Linked DNA regions of Homo sapiens: regions 2 and 3 are each linked to region 1. Evidence: promoter capture Hi-C in 16 types of primary human blood cells and fetal thymus (Javierre and others, 2016). All regions are on one chromosome and are shown on one strand. Each heading gives the region's core, a stretch centred on a gene start or on the middle of the fragment in contact. The rest is flanking DNA. Distances are from core to core; before and after follow the strand shown.

Region 1 (4,051 bases), core at 1,111-3,610:
TCTGCTGGGTTTGGCCAAAGGGACCTGGGCAGGGGTGTGGAGAAAGAGAATGGAGAGTGGTCAGAACCTTTATTTTCTGCTCCCTCCCCCGGGGCAGCCTGGAGCTGGCTGCGCCCCTCCCCTGAGGGCTTGGTTCCTGTTGGGCGGTCCTCTGCTCTGGGGCTCACCACAGGACTCCCCAGTTTCCTGTCCCCAGTGGTGGTGACAGAGCCTTGCTGTGATTCCCAGGTGTGGCCTCCCTGACCATCCCCACACCTCTGTACTGACCCCCTTTTGGGACCTTCTGTGAGTTGCCCAATTCAATTGAGTGTCCTGTCCTCTATGCAGGCTGGGATGGAGTTGAGAAAGACCTGTTCGACCCTCATTCAAATCCTGCTTGCTGACATGTCCTCCGCTCTTTGGTGCTGTGGCCAGCCAGGACCAGCTCCCCTCACCCTGTCCCTGCACCCACTGCTACCCAGACGCTTTTCCTGCTGTGGCCACGGAATCTGAATGGCCGGGGTCCTGCCAGCTACATATTAGGGTGGGCTTCCTTGTGTTTGTCTGGGAGCAGTGTGCAGATGTGGATTATCAAAAACCACGTTCTACCAGCAGATCTGGGCTTCAAAGAGCACCTTCTATTGTGTAAATGGAATTGAAAAAGCTCATCATGGAAAACGAGAAGCATTTTCAGCTCCTAAATTAGAGAATTTATGGTGATAAATCAAGAGTGTCTGCTCTAATAATCACAGGAAAAAACATGATAATATGATTTAATCTTAAAATATTTCTAACATAATATTAGAAAAATTATATTTCAGCTAATGTCTGGTTAGCCTGTTGTGAATGTATGCAAATATCTCAGGAAATATTAATATATACTGCCAGCTTTAGCTAATTAAAGAAATAGTTTTAGGAGTAACGGCCTCCTGATAATTTAATCACCGTTCAGTCTTTGCAGATAATTATGGTATTTGTTATTAAGTTCTCTCTGATTTTCCGAGGAATGAGAAATCTGATATAATCTTTTACTATGTGAGCCAAAAATTAAATTTTATTTCATTGTGAAAATTGTTGTGATCTGAAGATTTTAGAGCCAAGCTCCAGAAACGCTTCTCTCTTCTAGAACTGCCCAGTGTTGTGTTTTACAGGACTTGAACCCTGGGTTGCTGAGGAAGTGAACAGCTCTATGGCCAATAAAAGGCAATTAGGCTGAGATAAATTGTTGTGGAACAAATGATCTCATAAGAAGGTTTCCTTATGCTTACGCCTTATGAATAATCTTCTTACAAAGACTTTTTGAGGTATAATTTTAAAAATGATACTAATCATAGCATTTTAAAAAATAAAAAAGTGAAATGACCCAAAGTGTTTAATGATAATAAGATGGCCCAATAAATAACCTGCACTGATGTAATCCACATTAAAGGCAATATGATTCAGTCTTTAAAATTAAATTTTCAAAGAGTTCTTAAGACTGTTGTAGTTATAACTTTAAGTGAAAAAAAAGAGAAAATTATTTAAGTCGGCATGACCAAAAAAATCCATAGAAAAAAACGGAAAGGAAATATATAAAAAATGTTAAGTAGGTCCCCCAGAGTGGTGAAATTATACAGGTTGAGCATCTTGAATCTAAAAATCTGAAATCTGAAATGCTCCAAAATCTGAAACTTTCTGAGTGCTGACATGATGCTCAAAGGAAATGCTCACTGGAGCATTTTAGATTTTAGACTTTTGGATTCAAAATGCTCAACCATTAAGTGTAATGTAAATATTCCAAAATCCAAAACTCAAAACCTTTCTGGTCCCAACCATTTTGAATAAGAGATAACCTGTAGGATATTTTCATTTTCTTATTTTCTACTTCTATTTATTCTCCACATTATGTACCTGGCACATAGAAGATGTTTAATAACTAAGTATTGCTGAGTGAATAGTCAGGATAAGAACTCATTACTTTTTAGTCCATTTTTGGGAACTTAGGTTACAAAGTCTGCAGGGCCAGTGTTGTGGAAGTCACTGCTCTCTCCGACTCTTGGCAGGAAAAAGAGAAGTAGACTGCCTGTCTGCCAATGATGGCAGTCCCTGTGGGATACAAGGATGAGTGTGCCTGGTGCCCTCTCTACTGGAGCTCCAGTCCAGAGCTGGTGATGTGTCGGTGGACAAAGGACCGTGATAAAAGAAAGAATGGAGCAAGGACAGTCATCAAGTTCTCAGGGTGATTTGCTCACTGAACATCCCTGCTCCTCTGAAGCAGGCAAAGCAAGGGGACTTGCCTTGGCCAATGAAATTCAAGTACAAGTGTCATGTGGCAGTAGGGCCATGTGACTTGCCTTGGCCAATGAAATGTGAGCAGAAGTGTCATGGGGCTCTGCTGGGCAGAAGCTAAGAGCCAGCACTTGTTCACCATGTGCTCATTTCCTGTCTCTATGACAGGCTGCCGTGCTCCAGTTTGCGAATGCCCATCCACCTGTGAAGGGCTGAGCCAAGCCCTGGGCACGTGGTGAGTGACAGGCAGATCTTTGTGGAGGGAAGCCTCTGTGATTGCAGGACATTTGTTACTCGGTATAACCCAGCCTGTTCTAACTGACAGTGAACACAGCTCTGATTTACAGATAACACTGTGCTAACAAATCTATCATGTGCGTCTTACATCCTTGAATGTCATTGTAGGTTGGGGGTTGGGGTCTGAGTTCTGGTCCATTTTCCCCAGGCTTCATCTCCTGTGTCAATTCAGGCAAGAGGAAGAGAGAGGAGGAAGCTTCTAGATCCAAGCCAGAGGAGGTGGATGCAGCATCTGCCGCCCACAGCTTTGGGGCCTGGCCCAGCCTCCACCTGGCCGAGACACCCAACCCCGACCCCACCCACATGGGCGTGCAGAAGAGCCTGAGATGGTGCACACTGACCCATGGCAGAGTTACAGGTGACATTTCTTTTGTTTCTACATCCTAAATCTTTCTACAGTAGATGAACGTTTTGTAAGAGGACTTTTGCTGCCAGTTAGAAATGCATATTGCTGATGCACCCTCTGCAAGACCTTCTGAATCCAACGCCCTGGCGCAGTGGTCCTCAACCTTTTTGGCACCAGGGACACGTTTTGTGGAAGACAATTTCTCCACAGACTGGGGGTGGGGATGGTTTGGGGATGAAACTGTTCCATCTCAGATCATCAGGTATTAGATTCTCATAAGCAGTGGGCAACCGAGATCCCTCAAAAGCACGGTTCACAATAGGGATTGTGCTCCTATGAGAATCTAATGCCGCTGCTGATCTGACAGGAGGGTGAGCTTGGGTAGCAGTGCTCCTCAGCCTGCTGCTCACCTGCTGTGTGGCCTGGCTCCTAACAGGCCACAGACTGGTACTGGTTCATGGCTGGGAGTTGGGGACCCCTACCCTGCTGGATGGGGAGTCTCTAAGGTGTCATGGATGCCAGTGCAAAGCCTGTCTCCCCTGTGCCTCCCCTGTACCTCCCCCGCACCTCCCTGCACCTCTCTCTAGCCCTATTCCAGTGCCCTTCTTGGTGATGATGAGGCAGCTGAGGCCAGGGGCTTATTACTTCCCCAATTGCCACTGGCAATGGGGTTCCTCTGTGTGCTGGATTGGCGAGGGGACTAGCCCCCAAATTCTATCCTGAAGGTCTGCTATCTAGAGCTTTCAGGTGTGGTATCAGTGGTCTTAGATGGAGCTTCTCCAGCAGAGCTAGGGACAAAGGCTTGAGTTCAGGCTGTTTCTTTGGGCAGGGGTCTCAGGGCTCAGGCGAGCAGGAGTGAGTTGAGCGAGGGAGGGAAGGAGTGAATGGGAATACCAGATGGCTTATCCAATCGACAGCCGCTTGGAGTGGCTGATGCTGGGCTTTTTGAGACCTTCTGAGGCCCTTTATGAAATGCATCTCAGCACAGTCTCCTTGGGACAGTAAAGGAAAGAGAACTTATTATCTGCTTCTGTCCTGGCCGTGGAGGCCCTGTCTTTGGAGACTTGCATAACTGTGATTGCTGAGCAGCCTCCTGCAGGTGACCCCGGGGCCAAGGCAGGAAGTAAGAGGTGAGCAGATCTCCGAGCCCAGGTGGTGTCA
Region 2 (4,605 bases), core at 891-3,390, 1.6 Mb after region 1:
CAAACAGGCTGCAACTGACTGGGGAAGCAACAACCAGTGAAGTGCCTCTGCACCTGCCACTTCACTCTCCACCAATGAAGTGCCTCTGCACCTGCAGGCCTCCCCCACCAGCCAAGGCCACACCTTGCCAGGCCAGGTTAGGACACCCAGGATGGCCGGGCCAGCCATTCACCGCCTGGGCCCTCTTGGCCTCCAAGGAAGCTGGAGCTGGTTTTGATAGAGCTGCCAGCGAGCAGGACCAGTCCTGTGACCCCAGCCCACGGGGGTACATCGAAGGCCTCACCTCCCAGGCTGCTTCTGATGGTGCTGATGGCATTGATTTTGTGTCAGAAGTTAGCAGGATTCTGTTTTAAGTGGTAATCTTGCAGCTGACCCCTGGAATGCATTATTAATGAGCGCCGCATCTCCAACAGCCGGTACAGCCCTCTCAGGGCAGTGTGTATCTCCTGGGCCACAGGGTACAGAATCAGAAGCCCAGAAGGACCCAGGAGGCAGCAGTCTGCAGTCGCTTCCAGCACCGCTGTCATCAGGCCCTGACCCCAAATCCCCTGGGCATGCATTTAGCACGCACATGTAGGGCCCCAGCCCAGGAGGTGCAGATACAGTAGCTGGGGATGGGGCCCAGGAACCTGCATTTTCAACAAGCCCCTACTAAACCAGGTGGCCCCTGAGTTGGAGTCCCCACCTTTGGGGGCACTGCTGCATGTCAGCTTTCTCTCTGGTTTTCTTTTTCAAATTCACCTGGGTAAAACATTAACCAATATTTTTGAAATATGTGCACTATATACCGAGGGCCAGTGACGATAGGACTGTTAAACGAACACACTACATACTGACGGCCAGTGACGATAGGACTGTTACATGGATACACTATATACCATTGGCTATGGCCAATGGTGATAGGACTATTAAATGAACACAGCCAGATCCACCCCTCTCACCCTCCTAGGGCTCTCCAAGGCTGGCCACAGGCCTGGAAACCTGCGTCTTTAAAACTCTTCAGGTGATTCTGACATTCACACAGGTTGGGAACCCATCTATGATGTGATGAGTTTAGAAGCGAGACATGCTGAAATACATCCTAGTCACTCCCTCTTGCACTCATAAAGCATGGCTCCCAAGGTGCACAGCACACCACCTTCAGGCCCCGGAGCACGCTCTGAAGGCAGCAGAGGCAGCGGCAGCAGGCCTGTATCTTAGGATTCACCAAGTACAACTCCCCCTGGAAAATGGGCCCTCCCATGCCCAGACCTTCCCTCTCCTCCACCTCCTCCTGAGTGGCGATTACTGCACCAGGCCTTCCAGACCCTTCTTGACCCCCGTTGGAGGTGATGGTTTGGGACACCAGTGAGACCTCCTGCCCTAGCCTGCTTTGGATTCAGTCCTGTTTTGGGATCTCTGTTCTAACCTCCACCTATTTCCTCACCACGAGCAGTAAAACACAAAGAGGAATCCACCACCTGGAACACACTGGGTCCCAGAAAGTCCCTCAGGAAAACAGCTGCTGCTGGGAGGACTGGAAACTGCGCTTCGCTACCCATCCCCAGACCCCGCACAGACCCTCCTGGTGACCTCTGCAGTAGAGAGGGGTTCCAGCAAATGCACAGAGCATGAGCCAGAGGAGGCCAGGGACGAATAGGGTCCTGCGGTTTTGTTTCGATTTTTTCAATCGCATGGTAAGCCTTCCATTTGGAGTCAATTCAGAATTCTCAAAAGGACATGGGTCTATAGACTTAGGAAAGGCCCCGGAGACCCCCCTGTAAACTCACCTGCCATTCCGGGCCACACTGGCCCCGAGGCGCTGCAGGCTGGGGATCTGGGTGCTGGAGAGGCGCCTCCCTCCCCAGAGCTCTCCAAGGCCCAGCGGAGTCGCGCAAGCTCAGGAGGCCTTCGCGGGAGCGAGGGTTCTTGTGGGAATGGGGGAATGGAACGCGCTCACACATCAGGAGCCCTGGTCCTGGAGGCTGAGTGACGGACTCCGTGCACCCACAGTCTAAAGCAAGCGGTTAGACAGCCCTGGGCAGTGGAACCTCGCAGTCCTTTAGCGGTCCCCACGCCACTTCCCTGTCAGGGTGAGCCGAGGCCTCAGGTTTTCTTCTTCTTGAACCTAGGCTGCCTGTGACTGAAAGGTTCTCCCTGGGGCCTGAAAGCTGAAGGGAACGAAGAACTCCTCCCTCCTCGGGTCCCGAGGGGCAAGACCACTCGCGCCAGCAGCGTGGGTCAGCAACATAGCAGGAGCAGGAGGAGGGTCGGCCGGAAGACGCGCACCCCCGAAGACCCGGAGAGAGGCCATCCGGGTACCGCGTAGCAGTTACGTCAGACTGAGACACTTCCTGTTTCCAGGAGACCATAAAACCCCTGCCCCGCCCTCATTTGGTGCTGACGCCATTTTAGGCCTCGAGCCGCCCGCACCTGGGCGCTCGCTGAAACAGCCTGTCGCTCCACACCGCCTCGTGTTGTCTGTCGGCGCTCTCGGAGTTCCAACCAACACGAGAGCCTTGCGGTGACAAGGCCCAGGTCACAGACGGGGTGGCTTAGGATCCAGTTGCAGTTCCCTCTGCCCTTTCCGTCACCCTTTTCTTCCTTTCAAGGATCCAAATTCCACTGAACCTGACCATCTTTTCCTGAGCCCTCGCCTCTCACAGCCCCAGAGAAAGTTCAGGCCAGGAAACAGCTTCCCCCAGCTTTGGGACAAGTTTTTAGGCAGACAAGTTCTGACTGTACCAGATGTCCCAGCAGGACCTGCTAATATGAATCCATTAGCAAATATTTACTAGAAGTTCCTAAGTACATGTCCTTAATTTTGCCAATTAAGTTCCCAACTGCTATGGTAATGGGTACTGTAAAAATCCTAGGGCAATAAAAGCCATTAGATTTATGACAGCTGGGAAAGGCCCGGGGTAGGGGGCTGGGCTGTTCAGGTCAGGAGTCACTCTCACATTTGTTTATTCCAAAGGGCGATGTTTATTTCTGTGTCCAGCCTTGTGCTGGGCGCTGGGGACTGGCAGGGGTAAGATGGGAGGACATTGATGTGAGCCCCGTCCTGCCACAGAAGGAGATCAGAGCAGGAGAGTACCGGGCATTGGAGGCCGTCTGGAGGCAGGGGTCCCCAGTGGGAGGGGAGGGGAAGGGGGCCTGATGGGAGCTTCCCGCCCCCACCCCAGAAGCCTGTCCATCAGGCATAGCAGACGCCGGCTGGGGACCCTGGAAATGTTTCATTTCTGGCAACAAACAAAATGGTGAACTTCTTCACTATACTCATCTTTGCACCAACACAATCTAAAATACAATTTTTAATGTTTTTTGTAGAGTAAGGGCCCAGGAATGTCATCAGGAGGCCCTGGGAAGGGTCCAGGCAAAGGAGGGGTCCCAGTGCTCAGAGAGCTCTGATGCAGCCCAGACCACGGCGCTCCCCCACCCACCCGATGCCTCCTGAGAGACGAGGTGGCTCCAGCAGAAAGAAAAGTGTGAGAGGGACAAAGACTCCCTCAGTGGCTCCCCCCAGGAGGAGGAGCTTCCAGAGCAGGCGGCTAGTTCTGACCTGGGAGAGTGTTGGAGGAGCAGACCCTCCCGCTACTTGCACCCTGGGGTCTCCAGGGCTACCGACCAGCCCCAACAGCGCATCACCCACAAGACTGGTGTGTTTACACAAAGCAGGTAACCCCAGTGCTGAGTGGCCACCAGGGCTGCATGTGGCTGTGTGCAGGACCATCACCCTTGCCCACACAGCAGTTCAGCAGCCTTGGAGGAGGAGCGGCCTTCCCAGGAACCAACAGCTCAGCCACTCCGGGCCAGAGGCTGGAACTGAAGGGGAGGGAATTGTCCACACAGGTACCACTGGGCGTGGGGTCCTCACTCTGTTACACCCAAAGTCAGGCCAACCCCATGAAGGGAGTTTAGACCCAGCTGTGTCAAAGAGCAAGCTCTGGAAGTAATGCCGGTTGCCCTGCAGAAGCATCCGCACCTGAAGCCCCCGCCCCAGGTTGAGGCAATCCATTTGATGAAAGGGACAGGCACCTGCGGAAAGGGCGTGCATGAGCATGGCAGTGGCAGCTGTGGCTGACATCAGAGTCTCTCATCCCACCTCAGTCTCATGCCACCGCCATGGCTTTCTTTCGCCTATGGAATAAAGTCCTCTTGTTTTGTCATGGAGTTGAAAATCAAAGAAAAATTACCCAGGTGCATCTCAATCAACTTAGAGATTTAGTTTGCCAAGGAAAAAGGAACACAAAACCACAGGACCGTCTGTGCTTTTTCCAAAGAGGGTTTGGAGACTTCAGTCTTTAAAGGGGAAATAGCGGGCAGCAGGGGAAGGAGTAAAGAAAAAAAAAGGGGGGGAGGAGGAGATAAAAGAGGCAAGCGGTTGCATTCTTTAGAGGCTTTGATCAGCGTTCACTGAATCCGCATTTTACCTGGGAAAGAAGTGGGTAGAGGAACTGTCAACTGTGCATTTGTCTGGCGCTCAGTGAAACTGCATTTTTACCTAAGATAAAATAAACATAGAAGAAGCAGTCAAAGGTGAGTAGAGGAATGACTCGGGAGTAGAGGAATGACTTCTCGTTCCCCCTTTGGCCCTACTGAGCAGATAAGCTGTTAACTTACACT
Region 3 (4,121 bases), core at 1,621-4,120, 1.6 Mb after region 1:
AAAAAAAGTAGTGATGCTTACAACAAATGACAATACTTTTCCATTCTTTGTCATGACTACCCATTCTTCTAGACCTTATGAAAAAAGTGCTTGTTGTACCATATTCAATGAGAAATCATTTTCCTCTTAAATGTTTCTTGATAATTCACTACTGGTGCCTTGTGAAATGAGTCTCTAAACCTGCAGACATCCTACACTGCCTCTGCAATGTAACCAGTGCCGAGCTCAGCAATGACATCAGAAACTAATTTCCGTTGTTTTTCCTAAGCTGTAAAGAGATCTTTCACCAGCGAGGGGAGCCATTGTGTTGGCAAAGGAGTTGTCCTAAATACTGTTGTGTACTGCATTCCGCCACAGTTCTCCATTTTCTGAAGACTGCCTTTCTTAACTGCTAGAAGATACTCATGTACTAAGAAAAAGAGATTTAAGGTGGGTTAATTATAGTAGCTGTATGTTTAATACTGCTGTAAAGATACACTTTTTTCATACAATTATTGTTAATAATTTGAAGATGTTTATTGCATTCTATTTTTGGTGGGAAAAAAATGTAACATACATTTATTTAGCACGACATTGTGAAATACACAAAACATGTAACTGAGAAAGCAGGAATTTTCTATTCCTAGTCCATTTCTGAGGACTAAATCATGAACTGCTCCCAATGTAATTAAATATTTCTTACAATAGTTGGGCACCAAGTTTAAGATTTATTAATTTTCTCCTCTCAGTATAGGCAGCAATTCACCATTTTCTTTCAGTTCCTAAAAATAAAAAACAACAATAATAATATGTATATGCATATATAAAAAGATGGAAACATCTAAACAATCACAGCTTGTATGTATATCTGAGAACCAAAAGAAACACCTATTGGATTAAAACTCCAGTCTCTTAACACTCTCAAACTAAATGAGCCATAAACCCTGAATACACTATCAGGTTAAAAAATTTAACAAGGTATTCTTGGCCAGGTGTGGTGGCTCACAAATGTAATCCCAGCACTTTGGGAGGCCGAGGTGGGCAGATCACTTGAGGCCAGGAGTTCAAGACCAGCCTGACCAACATGGTGAAATCTGTCTCTTAAAAAATAAATAAATAAGGCTGGGTGCAGTGGCTCATGCCTGTAATCCCAGCACGTTGGGAGGCCGAGGAGGGCAGATCACCTGAGGTCAGGAGTTGCAGAACAGCCTGGCCAACATGGTGAAACCCCGTCTCTACTAAAAATACAAAAATCAGTTGGGCATGGTGGCGGGCACCTGTAATCCCAGCTACTCAGGAGGCTGAGACAGGGAGAATCTCCTGAACCCGGGAGGTGGAGATTGTAGTGAGCCAAGATCGTGCCATTGCACTCCAGCCTGGGCTAGAGCGAGACTCCATCTCATTCATTCATTCATAAATAAATAAATGAAGTTAAGGTATCCTAAAACCAACAGATTGTTTAGTATTAGGAAACGCAGCAACTGGAGCCAATGAAGCCCCTATTTAAACTGTAGCAATAAATAAGGAAAATAAATCAAGTGACTTTCAAGGTTGAAGAATGAAGTAATGTGGCTGGGCGCAGTGGCTCACACCTATAATCCCAGCACTTTAAGAGGCCAAGGGGGCAGATCACTTGAAGTCAGGAGTTCAAGCCCAGCCTGGCCAACATGACAAAACCCATCTCTATTAAAAAAAAAATTAGCCAGGTGGGCATGGTGGCATGTGCCTGTAATTCTAGCTACTTAGGAGGCTGAGGCATGAAAATTGCTTGAACCCAGAAGGTGGAGGGTGCAGTGACCCAAGAGCCAAGATTGCACCACTGCACTCCAGCCTGGGTGACAGAGTGAGACTCTGTCTCGAAAAAAAGGAAGAAAAAAAAAGCAGTGTGACGTTAAAAGTCTACTCAAATATGATGCTTGTTCCCCTCCCGTTCTTCCACTCACAGAGAGGAATCAGGCTTTGCTATTGAAACCCAACCTGGCAACACATCTCTGCCTCAGGAAAAGCTAGAGTACCAGTAAGAGGGAAAGGCAGAAACCATTAAAAAGACCTAACAATTCAGAAACAGACATGGCATCAAAAGAGCTACCACCAGGTTGACTGGAACTGCAGTACAGGCGCCATGCTCCTTGTGCCTGTTTTTCAGATTTAAAATCTGGATTATAGACACCAAGCTTGAAAGGACAGACATGATAAATAAGATTTTCTGGTTTAAAGAAACATTTAGTATGATATAACATTTCAGGTTATCACTGAACAGCATAAACATCAATCAATAAAACCATTAAAATCCGTATGACCTCCTCTGGATGAAATTCAAATAGGAATGATGCTGTCACACAAAACCCAGACGGCTTTCAGTCATGTCTAGGGATCTTCTTCTACCTACTCAACAAGCAGACACCCTGCCCCTCCAAGGGACCCAGCAGGACTTTTCTGAGCACACACTCAAGAAGGCACGGAGAGGACCACGCAGCTGAGTGGGCAAGGGCAGGTGGCCCTCAGGTGGAATCTGGACTCAATGGCTTACTAGTTATGGGATGGTGGACAATTCACCTGACCTCTCTATGTCTCTGTTTCCTCATCTACTGACTAAGAAGAATTCTGCTCTCTGAGGCTGCTTGGGAGATTACGTGAAGCAGCCTCTTAAAGCACCAAAGCAGTGTGCCTGGAACATTGGGAGCGCGCCAAATAAGGCAGTCCTCGCCACCCTCACTGCTGTTAATGCGAGCCGGCAGGTGGAAAGTCTAAACCTAACCAAATCTTCTATCTCTCTCAACAAACTGTCTTAAGTCCAAACATTCTGGAACAGCAGTAGTGAACCGTTTACTCTTCAGAGGCAATAACAACTCACAATTTTCTCAGGACACTAGATTAGCTGAGTAACTAAATCATCATTCAGTCCCTCATTCAACAAAACAAACGCTCATTGCTCCAAAGAGGCCAGCCAGATTAGACCATTTCAAACATCTTTTAATTGAACTGAACATGAAGAACTGCATTCTGCAAGAAACAGATCAAAATGGGATCGTAAGATCTATTCCATATATCTTCTCAAGGAAAAACGTTAACAATATCACACATTTCAAACGTATATGTTCTTAGCAGGTGAACATAAAAAATCATATAACACTCTGTTATATAACTAAAAAGAAGTTACCCACGCAGCTTAGCTTTAGAATTAAATGAGATTTATTGATTGTATCTTCCCAAGAGTTACCAATGGCTAAGGTACAGGCTATAAAACATTCAGACAAGAACAGGCTCAAGAGTATTTGGGGTTTGAGTATTCTTTGTGTCTTACAAAAATAAGACTATATATATATATATAGAGAGAGAGAGAGAGAGAAAGAGGGAGGGAGGGAGGGAGGGAAGGAGGGAGGGAGGGAAGAAACAAATGCAGATCTGTTTCTGCTGCTTCAGGGCTATTCAAGAGCAATAGTCTTAAAAATTTTTTCCTCCAGGAGTGAGACCATTCCCCAGGAAAAATGTCTCACTGGCTTGTTTAAGAAGTATGATATCAAACCTGGAACTCCACAGGAAACAAAACCTACACAGAGGCCACCAAAGGACAAAAAGAGCCTCTGCATCAATGGAACTCAAGCTTTGTTTTTATAAAACATATTGGTCCAAAGTGCTGATGTCATTTCAGTGGTAGGCTAGTGCTTCACTTTACAAAAGCACGTGTTAAAAACTTTTATTTTGGCCAGGCGCGGTGACTCATGCCTGTAATCCCAGCACTTTGGGAGGCCAAGGTGGGCGGATCACCTGGGGTCAGCAGTTCAAGACCAGCCTGGCCAACATGGTGAAACCCCATCTCTACTAAAAATACAAAAATTAGTGGGGCGTGGTGGCGGGTGCCTGTAATCCCAGCTACTCAGGAGGCTGAGGCAGGAGAATCACATGAACCTGGGAGGCAGAGGCTGCAGTGAGCCGAGATTGCACCATTGCACTCCAGTGGGGAACAAGAGCGAAACTCTCTCAAAAAAAAATGTAAAAAAAAAAAAAAAACTTTTATTTTACAACATAACTAGAAGTAGTACTACTTGCTATTTGTTTTCCACATAAAAAGTCGAAGATCTGACCTCAGAAAATTCTCTCATGGATTGAGGCAAGAGGAAGGCCTGAGGGCAGTCAGCAAC

The links. Contacts are between HindIII fragments. The CHiCAGO score rates a contact against its expected background, and 5 or more counts as called.
Region 2: a contact is called between a fragment that was not itself captured here and the fragment with the promoter of LINC01164 in region 1, in 2 of 17 cell types (endothelial precursors and naive CD8 T cells). The highest score is 10.2, in endothelial precursors.
Region 3: a fragment that was not itself captured here is called in contact with the fragment with the promoter of LINC01164 in region 1 in 3 of 17 cell types (naive CD8 T cells, total B cells and total CD8 T cells); the score reaches 8.9 in naive CD8 T cells.

Annotation. Positions count from the first base shown.
Region 1 is chr10:131,788,508-131,792,558 of GRCh38, reverse strand. It overlaps LINC01164 (long intergenic non-protein coding RNA 1164), which reads left to right and starts at 2,360. Exons shown (of 5, transcript NR_038365.1): 1 at 2,360-2,482; 2 at 2,693-2,902. The HindIII fragment of the contact is 4,036 bases long and covers 1-2,742 here.
Region 2 is chr10:130,211,194-130,215,798 of GRCh38, reverse strand. No RefSeq gene overlaps it. Among named protein-coding and RNA genes, the nearest start is that of GLRX3, 77 kb to the right of the region's middle. The HindIII fragment of the contact is 5,254 bases long and covers 1-4,605 here.
Region 3 is chr10:130,175,982-130,180,102 of GRCh38, reverse strand. It overlaps GLRX3 (glutaredoxin 3), which reads right to left. Exons shown (of 11, transcript NM_006541.5): 11 at 431-761. The coding sequence ends at 711. Among named protein-coding and RNA genes, the nearest start is that of GLRX3, 42 kb to the right of the region's middle. The HindIII fragment of the contact is 1,430 bases long and covers 2,156-3,585 here.